Regions from separate parts of the Homo sapiens genome. Here regions 2, 3, 4 and 5 are each linked to region 1. The links are contacts of gene promoters, found by promoter capture Hi-C in blood cells and fetal thymus (Javierre and others, 2016). All regions are on one chromosome and are shown on one strand. Each heading gives the region's core, a stretch centred on a gene start or on the middle of the fragment in contact. The rest is flanking DNA. Distances are from core to core; before and after follow the strand shown. Region 1 holds the start of MCEE (methylmalonyl-CoA epimerase). Region 2 overlaps EGR4 (early growth response 4). Region 3 holds the start of ALMS1 (ALMS1 centrosome and basal body associated protein). Region 4 holds the start of SMYD5 (SMYD family member 5). Region 5 overlaps CCT7 (chaperonin containing TCP1 subunit 7).

Region 1 (2,700 bases), core at 129-2,628:
TGACTCTCTTTTCGGACTCAGCCCACTTGCACCCAAGTGAATAAACAGCCTTGTGGCTCACACAAAGCCTGTTTTAGTGGTCTCTTCACACAGACGCGCTTGACAGGTGTAGCATGGGAAAAGGACTTCAGGGGATGGCAGAGTATAGGTGGGTAGAAACAACAATTCTATTAAACAGACACAACAGCTCTATTTTGGACGCAGTGAATTTGAGATGCTTGACAGTACCAAAATTTTAAAAATCGTTAAAAGTTGTACAGTGTGGATATCCCAGTTGTGTGCTACGGAATTCAAACTAAGCTCAGTCTGTAGTTGCTGTGAGCTGGGAACTCAGGGAAAGGTTGGGGTTTGAAACATAAATGAGTAATAATTTCATAGATCACATTTTAAATTCTTCAACAAAATACATATAAAACGCTTGTGTTGGGAAGAGACATGGAAGTTCTATTTCTGAAGAAGCTTAGTCATGGGGGGTGGACAGACAAGTGACAAGTTCGTACTTTCAATAAAGTATGCTAAGCGCTAAGTGCTTTGAGAGCACATAGGAGGAAGGAGAAACCAACAGTCTGTGTGTAGAGGGATGGGGGCGTAAGAAGCCCAAGGGAAGCTTCTAGGTGTTAACAATTGAGGTTAGAGTGATTTCAGTAACACTCAACTGAGAGATCCATCTATACAAATTTTAACAGTTTTTAAAATTTTGATAGCCTAGGAAAGCATAAACTCTGAAATTTGGGGAAAAGCGATTTTACGTTTCCCCTTACCTTCCCCCAGCTCCACAATTTGCCGGAGGCCTGCAACCCGCGTCCACGTGAGACCCCGGTCGCACCCCGAGCCCGGGATCTGCGCACTTACGTGAGGAAGCACTCGGGCCGACCCGTGGCTTTGCCGACTTCCGTCAGACACCGCTCCAGGGTCCGTCGACGCCAGACCTGCGGCGCCATGGCTGTCAGCAACTCCCGACACAATGCAGCATGCAAGGGAAGGGAGCCGCCCGGAAACCGCGCGGCAAAGATGCGCCCAGCGCAACTTGGATTTCAGAGCCGAAAGTTCCGCGGCGCACAGGTTCCGGACTCGCCCTCAGCCAGAGCCAATGGCAGCGCGAGCGCTTTCGCAGGAGGGTGGGAAACAAAAATCTCCATGGTCAGCCCAAACGCCTTTCAACTCTCTCCAAACTTCGTTTTGTATTTTTCAGGGGCCCACAAAGGGTGACCCGTCCTGGCCTTACGTTTCTGTTTTAGCTAAAGTAGGCCCGTTGTAGCAGGAAAGCAGCGACCTTCGCCACGCCCCTGACCTTTCTGTCCCCGCCCCCTCTGCCTCCCGCCCCGCCCTCTGCCGCGCGTCTCTCAACCTCCGTGGCTAGTCTTGACGTGGCGGGTTGCTTTCCAAAATGGCGCGGGTGCTGAAGGCTGCAGCCGCGAATGCCGTAGGTGAATACCGGGCACCGGCGACCTTCGCCATGGGACAGGGAGCGTGGGAACGGCGGTCGGGGGCGGAGGAGGCCTCGGCGTGGCCAAAGCACCTTGATCTAATGTCCTCCCCCGGGGGCGCGTTCCACAGCAGCTGCTGTCACTTAGGCAGAGGGTGCCTTCCAGAAGCGCCACCGCTTAGTAGCGGGGATTGCCTTGTGCATGAGTCCCATTTCCATCCGAGAGCTGTGCGCCTTGGGCTCTGCACCTTCCAGTATGTGGGCGGGAGAGTCGAGGGAACTTGCCCGGCAGGTCAGGCAGGGCAGGGACAGAAGTAAATAGAAGCGGATCGGTAAGTTATTTTACCGCGCACCAATAAAGAGACTGGGGAGAAACCAGAAAGGAGAGCACGTTCCGTAAAAACAACAACTACTAGTCGGCCGAACTCCAAGCGTGACCAGCTTTCTGTTGGGAACACTCAAAGGTCAGTGGTGTAAAGAATACAAAAGGAGTGGTTTTTCCACGTGCACTAATATATTTATCGCGTACACAGATAAAAGCATGTGGATTTGGAAACTTTCTTGAGTTCTCTCCCCCTTCATTTTTTTTAAAATATGTACATAGAATCAGTTATGACAGAAATAACTGTAATAATTGTCACGTTTTCTGACTCACTTTCTCCTCTTTTTATCCTTTTTTTTTTTCTCTTCCTCCTTTTATGAGAGGGCAAGTATTTCCCTTAATCTGAGATTCCCTATTAGGAAGAAGGTGCCAAGTGGTAATGCCCCAGAGTTACTCCGGGACATTCGTGATAAATCCTTCTAGCACCAGAGCCCACATTCTTAACCGTAAGGCATACCTTCCTCTTAGGTGATACACAAGATAGGAACGTAAAACTATAAATAAATGAATATTTGGGAAAAGGCATTTTTATGTCTATTTTTAGAACTGCACACTTTAATGATTGACAGTTTGGGAAAAAGTATGACTTCCAACAGGTCATATACATACTGCAAGAACTCAATACAGATAAAGGTGCATGTTTGTTTTGTACTTACATACACATCTTGGCATAAAGGAAAAATGAAGACAGTGTATTCCAAAGATTGCCTTTGATTTGTCCTATTAAGATACTTGAAGCTTAATGTCTCCACTTGTGTGTGTGTGTGTGTGGTTGAATATACATAAAGTAAAATTTACCTTTTTTTTTTTTTTTGAGACAGAGTCTCACTCTGTCGCCCAGGCTGGAGTGCAGTGGCGTTAGCTCACTGCAACCTCTGCCTCCCAGGTTCAA
Region 2 (2,700 bases), core at 164-2,663, 2.2 Mb before region 1:
GGCCAAGGCGCGACGCAAGGGGCGCCGCGGCGGCAAATGCAGCACGCGCTGCTTCTGCCCGCGGCCGCACGCCAAGGCCTTCGCTTGCCCGGTGGAGAGTTGTGTGCGGAGCTTTGCGCGCTCCGACGAGCTCAATCGCCACCTGCGCATCCACACGGGCCACAAACCCTTCCAGTGCCGCATCTGCCTCCGCAACTTCAGCCGCAGCGACCACCTCACCACGCACGTGCGCACCCACACCGGCGAGAAGCCTTTTGCTTGCGACGTGTGCGGCCGCCGCTTCGCGCGCAGCGATGAGAAGAAACGGCACAGCAAGGTGCACCTCAAGCAGAAGGCGCGCGCCGAGGAGCGGCTCAAGGGCCTCGGCTTTTACTCGCTGGGCCTCTCCTTCGCTTCTCTCTGAGCAAGAGATGGGTTTATGGGTTGGGGCGCCGCCGTTCGGCGCGCACGAGTTCCGGGCCGTTCCCCTCCCCGCTCTTCTTCCAACTCCTCCTCGCACGCCCGAGGGCCGGCCTCCGGTCCCGCTTCCAGTTTCCTTGAAGCGCCCGCCGCACACGCCCTATTCAGCACCAGCTCCGCGGACAGTTCCCGCGGTCCAGGCGCTGTCACCCTTGTCAGCCGCGCTTTGGGGGAAGTCTTCTGAGACCACCCAGTGAATAGGCACTACCCTGGGATTCAAGACAGTCTTTTGTAACTGGCACACGCCCCACGCCTTCCTCTATAACCCCCAGAGACAGGCTGGGGCAGCGCCAAGGCGGTCTCGCGCGGGACTTTGTACAGCAGTGTCTTATCCAGCAGCCATTGGATGTAACGTTTTGCTTTGGGTTTTTTTTCCTTTTGTTGTTGTTAATTTTTGTAAAGCAGACGCTACTCTCAAGCAGTTGACAAAACTGTTTATTTTTGCAATTAAAATTATTGTGCTAAAAGCTTACTGAATCTGCCATGTAAGCTCCTGACCCTTCCCCTTAGCTTCTCCCCCAGGACCATATGTGCCAGAAGATAAAGGAGATCCCCACGCTCATGGGATACAGACCCTGAACATATTACACACCCACTGTCAGGCACACCTGCCAGGAACTGCGGCACAGAGTAGGCATTCAGTAAATGTGTGTTGGGTTAATGAACGAATTTAATCACAGCTCACCTAAGGGCTGGAGGTGTTTCTGGAACTTCAAAGTGGTTAAAAGGCGTAGGTGTTCAACATTATGTATATATTATTCTCCTTAATCCTCGCATTCCCAAATAAAGCAGGCATATACCTCATTTCAAAGATGTGGAAGCAATGTAGATAGCTTGCTGGAACAATGTAGTTAACCCAGGCTAGGAACAGACAGGTCAAACAAATCTGTCCAACTTCAAAGCCAACCCTCATTTTCCAACCCCAGAATGGAGACACCTAAACTTAATAGCACTGATTGGAAAGGCTTCCTACCAGAAGGTGAGAAACAGGTTTGGCAGCTAGAGGGAGCTCCAGGCAGTAGCGACAACAGCAAAAGGCTGCAGTATTTTGGTGCTGTTTGTGAAAGCCCAGAGTGTTCAGTGTCACAGAGGCTCCAGACAGTATCTATGCATCTGTTCAAGAGTCACATGATGTCAGGACCCAAAGGGTCTCAGCATTTAGCTAGAGCACACCTGAATATAGCTGGGAGCAGGCACTTGCCAGAGACTGATGGTCACCTTAGTTGCTCTTCCCACAAAAAGGATCTTCTCCAGGTGGCATCAGCCTACTTACCATTCAGCCATGCGCCTGCCACAGCCACTTTTCTCCAGCTGTCCTTCCAAGTGAACTCTTCATGGCTTTGGGATCAGAGGAAGGCTAGGAGGGTGATGAGGAAAGCATGACCTTGTAATGGTGAAGGTGGCCCCTTTTTACTCTTTGAACTCCCCACCCAAAGCTTTTCCACTCTTTCTGGCCACCTTGGGCAGACCTTGGAGCATAAAAAGGCCGCTGTGCTCTCCATCTCTCTGCTCCAATGACCCCTCTCTGATAAGGAAGAAAGAAGGCCTGTGTCTGAGGACTTCATTGTTTTCTCTTCTGAGCTGAGCTGTTCTTGAATTAAGAGACCTTACAGCCCTATGATGCCAGATCAAACCAGCTTCTGATACTCTTGCTGCTTTCTTCACTCCTTCACTCTAAGATATGCTCACCCTCCACCCCACAGTCCAGCTGACCAGAGACAAAATGATCAACTCAGAGAATTCCATCCTTTTCTCTCCCTAGGTTTTAAGTGCTTTCATGTGGCCAAGTATCTTGTATCTAAGAAACTAATTTGTGGTAAAGGATTTAATATTACCTCTTCTAGGAGAATTAACATTTTAGAACAGTAGCCTGCAGAGGGCAATGTTTAACCCAATGAAGAGGCTCAAATTGTGGACTGTCAGGCACTGTGATAAGTGGTAGATTCATGGAGACACAAGATAATCATGACCCTCATTGTCTTACTATTTAAGTCACCACACCTTTCACTTATTAGGCATGGGCCACCTGACTTCACTTTTCATGAAGAGTAGGGCAAGAAAAGCATAATGGCCCATATTTCAAGCAACTGGTCCCAAAACACACAAGCTGAACAAAGGAGGAAACGCAGACAGTGGGTGGCTGGCCTCTGATCACCCCTATCTTGCCCTCTCCAGCAGCATTCCAGCAAGTGCCATCAGCTCTATTATTCTTATCCTCACACCCACCTAGGCCTAACATCA
Region 3 (2,700 bases), core at 94-2,593, 2.3 Mb before region 1:
AGACAAAACAACAACTACTGCTCATTAGTGACAAAACTCTACACCTTCACTGTCTGTGATGATGGAACTGTTCCATTATCTGCTCTGTCCAACATGGTAGCCACTAGCCTAGTGTGGCTGCTGAGCACTTGAAAACCGGTAAGAACAGACGCATGGAATTTTTCATTTAATTTATTTTTAACTCTTACTCAAAACTATAATAGTTTTCTCTTTAAGATGTAAAAAGCCACACGTGGCCAGTGGCTACTGTACTGAGCAGGGCAGGTCTTGCTCCTCGAAAAGCAGTAAGTTAAAAAAAGGGGGGTAAGGGCAGCAAATTAAATGGAGAGTTATTTTCAAAATGATCTTCGGGGGTCTACCATGAAATCGGCTTTCTCCATTGTGTATTATCTGTGCTTTGTAGTTTTGCAGACTGTTTGGAGCCGCATCACAAGCCTCCTGCATTCCAAGCCCCTCCTATCGGCTGGGGAACCCCTTTATTGCTACAAATGATGGTCCAGGGGAGGAAAACCCGCGGGGAGCCTCTCCAGACTAAGTGATCGCGCGGTGTACATTATCCACATTACTCCCTCAGGGGAGTCCTGCAATTCAGTCAAGCTCATCTGTTCACTGTCTCCCCAACAAGATGCTCCCCAGGCAACCACTCGCTCCGGTCCTACACCGCCTTTTCCCTCCTTCAAGGCTCGACACACCCGTGGTCCTCTCTCAGCGTTTCTCACGGGGAATGCAGGCTCCCCTGAACGTCTACGGGAGTTCAAAAGGCCCAGGACCCACCGAGGGGGAGGAAACGAGAAGTCTTTGCCACAAAGCCTGGGAGACGCGGAGCAGCCGGCCGGCACCTGGGCTGGAGTCTGGGCCGCCTACTAGCCTCAGCTGCGCGCGTTTTCTCCGTCAGGCGGCGTGACCTGCGGGCGGGCGGAGCGCTCGGGGCCCAGCCTCCACCCCCAACTCGCCGCGGCTCCACACCCCTCCCCGGCCCGCCTCACCTTCTCCAGGGAGGTCCGCTCGCCCTCCGAGTAGCGGTGCTGCGGGGGCGACAGCGGAGGCAAAATCCTGCCGGGGTGCGCCTGCAGCCAGGCCTTGGCCTCCTCGTCCTCCTCGTCGTCTATACTTTCCAGATGCTGGGGCCCGTAGTGAGAGTCGGAGTCCAACTCCCGCCCCGCCTCTTCCTCCACCTCCTCCACGACCACTACGTCGTCCACGTTCGCCGCCGCCGCCGCTGCAGCCTCCTCCTCTTCCTCCTCCTCCTCCTCCTCCTCCTCCTCCTCCTCCTCCAGCTCGCCCGGCCATGGCAGATCCTCGGGCTCCATGTTGGTGTCTCGCTCTGGGCGGCAGAGGAGGAGGAGGAGGGGGGGAGGGAGGGGAAGGGGAGAGCCCTGACTGGCGGTTGTGGCCCAGCTTAGGCGCAGTGCCGCCCGCCTGGGCGGGGCCGGAAGACCGCGCGCGCGTTGCTAGGGACGCCGCGCGAGGCCCGGCGGGAACGCCTTAGGGCGGAGGTTTGCTACAGGCGACGTTGCCGCCTCGCCGCCGTCACCGGCCGGGACCTTGCGAACTGTACTGTAAGCTCACAATAAACCGGGACTGGGCGCCTTCCGGGGCGCAGAGGGCCCCGCGCAAGGACAGTGTAGTTCTCGGCTGGGGTCGAGTTTCGCCCCTGCACAGAGAAGAGATCAAACTCTAGGACGTACCCGTTATAATCACACATGCAAATTATAAAGTTTTAAAGGTTGAGTATCTCCTAAAGTGTCAAGCTGTATGGTGGGCGCTTGAACCTAACCGTGGAAAAGTGTCACGGGTTGTTAGAGGGATTAAGAACTGGGCACTGGCATCAGAAAGATCGGAGTTTGAATCCTGGCATCACCACTTAAAGTGGTGTGACTTTGTGTTTATAAAACGATGATAATAGGCCATCGCATAGGATGGGTGTGATAATTAAAGGAAATAATCAATGTGAAGGACTTAGTGATAGGTTGGTTATTGTACAATAACTCATTAGATGCTCACGGTTCTGTGAGACAAGTATTACTATTTCATGTATGAAGAATCTGAGGCTAAAAAAATTAATTTGCCCAAAGTTTCTTACCTAGTAAGTGGCTGACTCAGTATGCCATCCCAGGTCCTCTGTTAGTGTAGGAATTGCCCTGGCCTAGACCAACCAGCTGTTAAAGGATAACAGAGCAAATATTTATACTGATAGTACATATGTTTTGGTGGTTCGTCAATGACTTTGGAGTGCTTTAAAAACAAAGATTTCCTGACCGCTTCAGGAACCTCTACGAAATGAATGGCAAATTAAAGTATCTTAAGATGCCATGTAACCAGACACCACCTGTACCCCCAATAACCTATGGGGAAAATTTTTAAATTAAAATTTTAAATAATAATTATAATCTTGAGATGCTTCACTGTTACCAAAGGAAATAGCCATAATTAAAGTGGAGTCCAGCAAAAAGTCTTCATGGTATTACCCACAATAGTAGAGATACATTGATAATGATGCTGAACCAATGTTGGTGGGGCAATTTTAGGGTTATTGCCAAGGATGTATGTCCTGCCTACCTGTCAATGACCCAATCCTGGCAAAACTTTAAGGGTAGAACATGAACTGGAGCCCAGTCTTGGAGTTCTGTTGAACACCTCTAAATGGACTATGAGTACATTAGGGTTATTTATTCTTAAGGGGTTTAGGGGTTCTCCTTG
Region 4 (2,770 bases), core at 182-2,681, 2.1 Mb before region 1:
AGAAATGAAGAAAGGAAGGGGCTGAGAGACTGGGGGCTAATGAAGAAAAAGGTGAAGAATATCACTGCAAACCAAGAATGATGGAACTGAGAGGCCTTCAAACTGTGGCCACCCAGGAGCACTAGAGACTATGGAGATGGAGATAGGAACAGGTAAGGAGACCAGGGATGTAGGGAAGCTGATTTACCAGGGAAGGAGCAAACTGCTCCAGATACCTCTAGAGCAGAAAGGGGGCACGGAAGGTTGAGCTGGAAAACTAGATCAATATGATGACGCTGAGAGCAGACAACAGACAACTAGAGGTCTTACGTCTTGGGCAAGAACCAACCATACACACAGCCACTACACAGGATAAATTATTCAACCTCACTAGTAACCAAAGAAACGTAAATGAGAACAAATATAATTTTACACATATCAATAGGCAAAGATAACTAGGAAAAAAATACTGCTGGACAAAACAAGAGGATGTTTGCACAGAAAATGAGCTCTAAGACTTTTGACTCTGGGGATGAAAAATACCATACAACAATAAAGGGTCCATTAATAAGGGGTTGGTTGAGTGAACTGTGACCCTCTCACGGAAGAAGCTACTACTCAGCTCTTAAAACTTAATATGTAGAAATAGGCTTGATATTGAAAGATTCACTGCTGCATCAAAAAGCAGTTTCTAAAAATGTAATTTTAACGTACTCATCTTTGCACAAGTATAGAAGTATGGGTGATTTTTGTATTTTCTTTCCTTACATGCATTTTGTATTTTTTTCTACAATGAACTTTTGGAACACAATAAAAACGACAAAATCACGTCACCTTCCTGCTAAAAACTCTCCCAATGCCCCCACGGCCTTTGGACTCTGGTCCAAATTCCTCAGCACTCCAAGGACCCTCGTGAAGGATCTTGGCCTCTCTCCTCATCCCCTCACCCAAATCTCACACATGAAGTTCGTGAGGACTCCCTCTTTTACACCTCAGTTCTCTCTGCCCGGCACATCCCCGCCCACCGTTCCAGGGATACAGCAGCAAAGCCCCCTAGCCCCGCCCCGAGCAGCCACAGAAGGGCCTCCCGCGGGCTGGCCGAATTCCGCTGGGAGGAAATGCGCACGGAGACTCCGGAGGCCCGGGTCTATCGCGTGACCGCGCCACGAGCCTGCGCGCAGGGACAGACTGGGAGCCCCCGGGCCGCGAGCAGGGGCAGGGCCGTAGCGTCCGAGCGGCACAGAAGCCTCTGGGCTCCGGGCATGGAGTCCGGCCGGGCTGTCTCCATGGCCGGACTGGGGAGAGGCTCCCGGCAGGACCCGCCCCGACCTCACCTTGGCGCTGCTCACGAAACGGACTTCCACGGAGACCCGCGCGCGGCCCGCCACGCCCACGCAGAAGGAGAACACGTCGCACATGGAGGCCGCCATCTTGGGCGCGCCTCCGCCTTATGACCCTTAACCCCGCCTCGACCTGAGAGGCCACACCCCCTTCTGGTCCCGCCCCCGGCGAGAGTGCCCCTGAGGCTGCGAGGTTTTGGGCTCCACCAAGTCTGAATTTAGGTTCCGTGGTTTGTTGACGGGAGTGTAACTGGGCCTGCCTTTGTGCTTTTACATCGGTGCCTTTTTGTGTCTGTACCTCTGTATCAGAGTCTGTGTGCGCGTACAGTTTTGATGTGTGTATCTTTGAGTCCGTTGCATGTTTTGTTGTGGTTTTTTTTTTTTGAGATAGTCTCACTCTGTCGCCCAGGCTGGTGTGCAGTGGCGCGATCTCGGCTCAGTGCAACCTCTGCCTCCCAGGTTCAAGTGATTCATTCTCCTGCCTCAGCCTCCCGAGTAGCTGGGCGTACAGGCGTGCGCCACTAAGCCCAGCTAATTTTTGTATTTTTAGGGGTTTCACCATGTTGGCCAGGCTGGTCTCGAACTCCTGACCTCAAGTGATCCGCCCGCCTCGACCTCCTAAAGTGTTGGGATTACAGGCGTGAGCCACCTCGCCCGGCCTCCGATGCATGTTTCTATGTATGTTGTCTCTGTCCACACAGTGGCCTGTCTTCACTGAGTAAAGCGCTCTTTGGACCCAGCCCTAGAGTGGGACAGCAGAAGGCCAACTTACTCCTATCCTGTCTAGCTCTCAGCCTGAAGGGAAGGACTAGCTTATACCCCGGAGCTCACTCACCCCACTTGAAGAGTCCAGGACAAGATTTCCTTTCTCGGTAATCCCTCTGGCAGCAGAACAGTCCTGCCAAAGGTCAGGGTGGACTTGTGCCTCTGTCAGATTCTTCAATGGCTTAGGGACCTTGCAACCGGGGGTAGCGGAGGAGTCCATAGGGGACCTCAGATCTGAGAACCTCTGAAACTGGATACAGAAGTGAGTGTGCATATGCACACACTGTCGTGAAAAGGGGGAGGGGCCTGTTCTCTCAGGACCCCAAGAAGCTGCAAACCACAGACCTATGGCATTTGTCCCCACAGCTAGGCCTGACTATCAAGCCTTGTTTTGTTTCCTTGTCCCCTGATTTTGTGAGTTTTGTTTGAGACAGGGTCTCGCTTTGTCGCCCATACTGGCATGGGGCGATCTCGGCTCACGGCAGCCTCCAGCTCCCGGGCTCAAGAACAGACTGGGCAACGTAGTGAGACCTTGTCTCTCCAAAAAATAGAAAAATTTGCCGGGCGTGGTGATGCGTGGGAGGATCACCTGAACCTGGGGAGGTCTAGACTGCAATGAGCCGTGATCAAGCCACAATTATCTATCAAATAATTATAGATAGATAGATAGTTGGCAGGGACAGAGA
Region 5 (2,700 bases), core at 35-2,534, 2.1 Mb before region 1:
GATCTTAAAAGCAGTGGGATTTCTGATACCAACCTATGCTAGTCCCAAACACCCCCTCAGGAGCCTCCTTTCCTGCACACAGGCCTGAGGAACTCTGTAGACTTACCTCTGCCATCTACAATAAGCTTGTCCATGCCACGGGGACCCAGGGTAGTTCTTACAGCCTCAGCAATCACCTGGCAGGCACTGATGTTACTCACAAGCTGGGGGATGCCTTGGGAGCTATCAGTCCCCTCTTTCAATAGGATAACTGGTGTGGGCTAGAAAAGAAAGAAATTAACTGCTTTTAATAATCATCTATTATAATGAGACTGGCAGGGGAAAGGGGAAAATGCTCCCATCTCTCCCTTAACAGAATTATCTAGAGGTCTTCTTAAACCACATTCCCCCAACTGTCTACCACATCCATTCCCCAACCAGCCTCTACCTCCAGAGACACTATCAAATTTAGCCTACCCTGCAGGTATGCTAGACAGGAAAATGGTTTGAGAAGCACTGACCTAATCTAAAAGAAAAAATCATGAGTTCTCCAGTACCCAGCTGAATGACCATGGCCTTTTCAACTTCTGACCTTACTCCCTGTGCTGAGGAATTGGGTCACAACACAGGAGGAAGAGGCAGACCCTGCTAAGTGTTCATTCCGCAGCAAAACATCCACTTGTCTGTGTTACAGCTCAATCTTAGAGAAGCAGATGGGACACTGATGCAAAATGCAAGATGCCAAGAGCTTGAGGTGTTGTCCTAGAGATGCCTAGGCAGTCAGCTTTATGTAACAGTGATGTTCAGCTGCAGTGTAGGAAAACAGGCAGAGAAACAAACAGCACCTTTGCCCTGTTTTGAAAAATGATGGCAAATCTAATTCATACAGCAATGTTTCCATCTCTCATGCTGGCTGAATAAAGCTTCTGTGTGACTAATTTCCAATCAGATACCCCAAAGAAGTTTTCCTCTTTCTATATTGCATTGGTCTCCAGAACATTCCCTATCCCCGTAAGGGCTTCATTTGCAGACCTGCTTTAGAAACTGAGAAACAGGGATACTTGCTTGTTTTAAAGGGCCCGCTCAGATATCTTTGCTCTAGTGACCACCATTATTAGCAGAGAGAGCAATTTCTCAGCTTAGCAAACCAGACTACTTTCTCTCCACATTCAAATCTGAGCCTTCAGAGATAAGCCCACGAACTAGATCCAGTCTTCTCAAGTGTTTCTGGCTAATTTTGTGTGTGACACAGAATGTAGTAAGGATAAATACTATTTCAAAACTTTTATTGTGTTAAATTTGTTACTAGGCTATGATTAAAAATGTATTTCTTACTGTGGAATGCAATAAAAAGTTTGAAAGCCATCACCTAGTCCTTAGAGGTACGTGGATGTCTGAGCAAGGAAGGCACAGGAAAGCACAGAGCTTTCCCAACCTAACAATGAGGAGTGAGGAATTCCTGCCAAAGACAGAGTCTTGCCACTCATGAGGCTGATTCCTTATTAACTGGTCAATTCCTTAAAAAGTTCAACTCTTTTGGCCAGCGCAGCTGGAGGGTAGTAAGCAAGAGGAAGACTGGAATAAAGCTGAAGAGGCAGGCAGGAACCAGATCACATACACACTCGTAGACACACTATGGTGAGGAGTTCAGATTTCATTCCTAAAAAGGAAAGCCCTGGGAAGCTTTCAGCAGAGGAATGGCATACTGTGATTTACATAAAAAACAAAAACCACTGTAGAAAAAAGAGGATCACTTGAGCTCATGGAGTTCAAGACCAGCCTGGGGAACATGGCAAGACCCTGTCTCTACAAAAAGAAAACGAAAAATACCCAATAAACTCTACGGAATAAGAGAGTGGGAGTAATTTAATATATTATTCATTTTTTAATATATATTTCTAAGAGACAGGGTCTTGCTCCACCACCCATGCTGGAGTGCAGTGGTGAGATCATAGCTTACTATAAGCTCAAGCCTCCTGAGTAGCTGGACCGCAATGCATGAGGTACCACACCTGGCTAATTTTTTAAATTTGTATTTAAAAAATGTTGCCCAGGCTGGTCTCCAACTCCTGGCCTCTAACAACCCTCCTGCCTCAGCCTTCTGAAGTGCTAGGATTACAGGCATGAGGCACCATGCCAGGCCCTCATTAAATTTTTTTAAATGCTTGTCAAATAATCATACATTACTCCTTTTATTTTTTATTTTAAAAAGAATGCTTGTCATGTAAACCCCTACATTTGGGATCAGGCGTCAACTGAAGGGAAAATTCCTTCCTTTTGCTGGAGTGTCCCAGGTCTGGTGGCAAGAAATGGCTTCTCTATACTCCCAGCATTCTTTCTGGCTCTTCAGCTGGCCCAGTCCCTGGCACCTTCTGTAAGGGAAAGATGTGTGTCCTGAAAGGCCCTACCATCTCCCAGTCTTGCTAAATCATTCCTTATGGCAGCCCCAAGTCTTCTCTGGTCCACCCCTGCCACGGATGGAGTCTTACACTTTAAATCAAAAACTAACATGAGTCTCAATCACTTCCTATCACCTTCAACAGGTTCTTTCACCTCAACAGGTTAACTTACCCAATGCTTGTGTATACTTTTTCTCACCTCAACCTGCAAAGTGTACCCCCATCTAAAATAGTCACTCTGCCATCTTCTACCAAAACCACTTTCTCACCACCAGGCCACCAATTCCTCAGAGCTCCAATTCTTCCAAGAAGTTTTCTCTAC

What was found. The method cuts DNA at HindIII sites, captures the fragments that hold promoters and counts their contacts. A CHiCAGO score of 5 or more calls a contact.
Region 2: a fragment that was not itself captured here is called in contact with the fragment with the promoter of MCEE in region 1 in 1 of 17 cell types (naive CD8 T cells); the score reaches 6.0 in naive CD8 T cells.
Region 3: a contact is called between the fragment with the promoter of ALMS1 here and the fragment with the promoter of MCEE in region 1, in 6 of 17 cell types (fetal thymus, total CD8 T cells, total B cells and 3 more). The highest score is 8.5, in fetal thymus.
Region 4: a contact is called between the fragment with the promoter of SMYD5 here and the fragment with the promoter of MCEE in region 1, in 1 of 17 cell types (total B cells). The highest score is 5.2, in total B cells.
Region 5: a fragment that was not itself captured here is called in contact with the fragment with the promoter of MCEE in region 1 in 1 of 17 cell types (total CD8 T cells); the score reaches 6.3 in total CD8 T cells.

Annotation. Positions count from the first base shown.
Region 1 is chr2:71,128,907-71,131,606 of GRCh38, reverse strand. It overlaps MCEE (methylmalonyl-CoA epimerase), which reads left to right and starts at 1,378. Exons shown (of 3, transcript NM_032601.4): 1 at 1,378-1,427. The coding sequence starts at 1,388. MPHOSPH10 (M-phase phosphoprotein 10) reads right to left here and starts at 973. Exons shown (of 11, transcript NM_005791.3): 1 at 853-973. The coding sequence starts at 941. RefSeq lists enhancers at 776-825, 926-975, 1,297-2,155. The HindIII fragment of the contact is 1,939 bases long and covers 610-2,548 here.
Region 2 is chr2:73,289,160-73,291,859 of GRCh38, reverse strand. EGR4 (early growth response 4) reads left to right here. Exons shown (of 2, transcript NM_001965.4): 2 at 1-931. The coding sequence ends at 403. Among named protein-coding and RNA genes, the nearest start is that of EGR4, 3.0 kb to the left of the region's middle. RefSeq lists an enhancer at 26-721. The HindIII fragment of the contact is 968 bases long and covers 930-1,897 here.
Region 3 is chr2:73,384,479-73,387,178 of GRCh38, reverse strand. It overlaps ALMS1 (ALMS1 centrosome and basal body associated protein), which reads right to left and starts at 1,343. Exons shown (of 23, transcript NM_001378454.1): 1 at 987-1,343. The coding sequence starts at 1,310. LOC105374804 (a long non-coding RNA gene) reads left to right here and starts at 1,498. Exons shown (of 4, transcript XR_007087053.1): 1 at 1,498-1,726. RefSeq lists enhancers at 555-794, 835-1,584 and silencers at 855-1,024, 1,185-1,584. The HindIII fragment of the contact is 2,912 bases long and covers 1-2,700 here.
Region 4 is chr2:73,212,906-73,215,675 of GRCh38, reverse strand. It overlaps SMYD5 (SMYD family member 5), which reads right to left and starts at 1,431. Exons shown (of 13, transcript NM_006062.3): 1 at 1,314-1,431. The coding sequence starts at 1,409. RefSeq lists enhancers at 1,254-1,493, 1,281-1,575. The HindIII fragment of the contact is 7,894 bases long and covers 1-2,770 here.
Region 5 is chr2:73,237,203-73,239,902 of GRCh38, reverse strand. CCT7 (chaperonin containing TCP1 subunit 7) reads right to left here. Exons shown (of 12, transcript NM_006429.4): 2 at 107-260. Among named protein-coding and RNA genes, the nearest start is that of CCT7, 4.2 kb to the right of the region's middle. The HindIII fragment of the contact is 760 bases long and covers 905-1,664 here.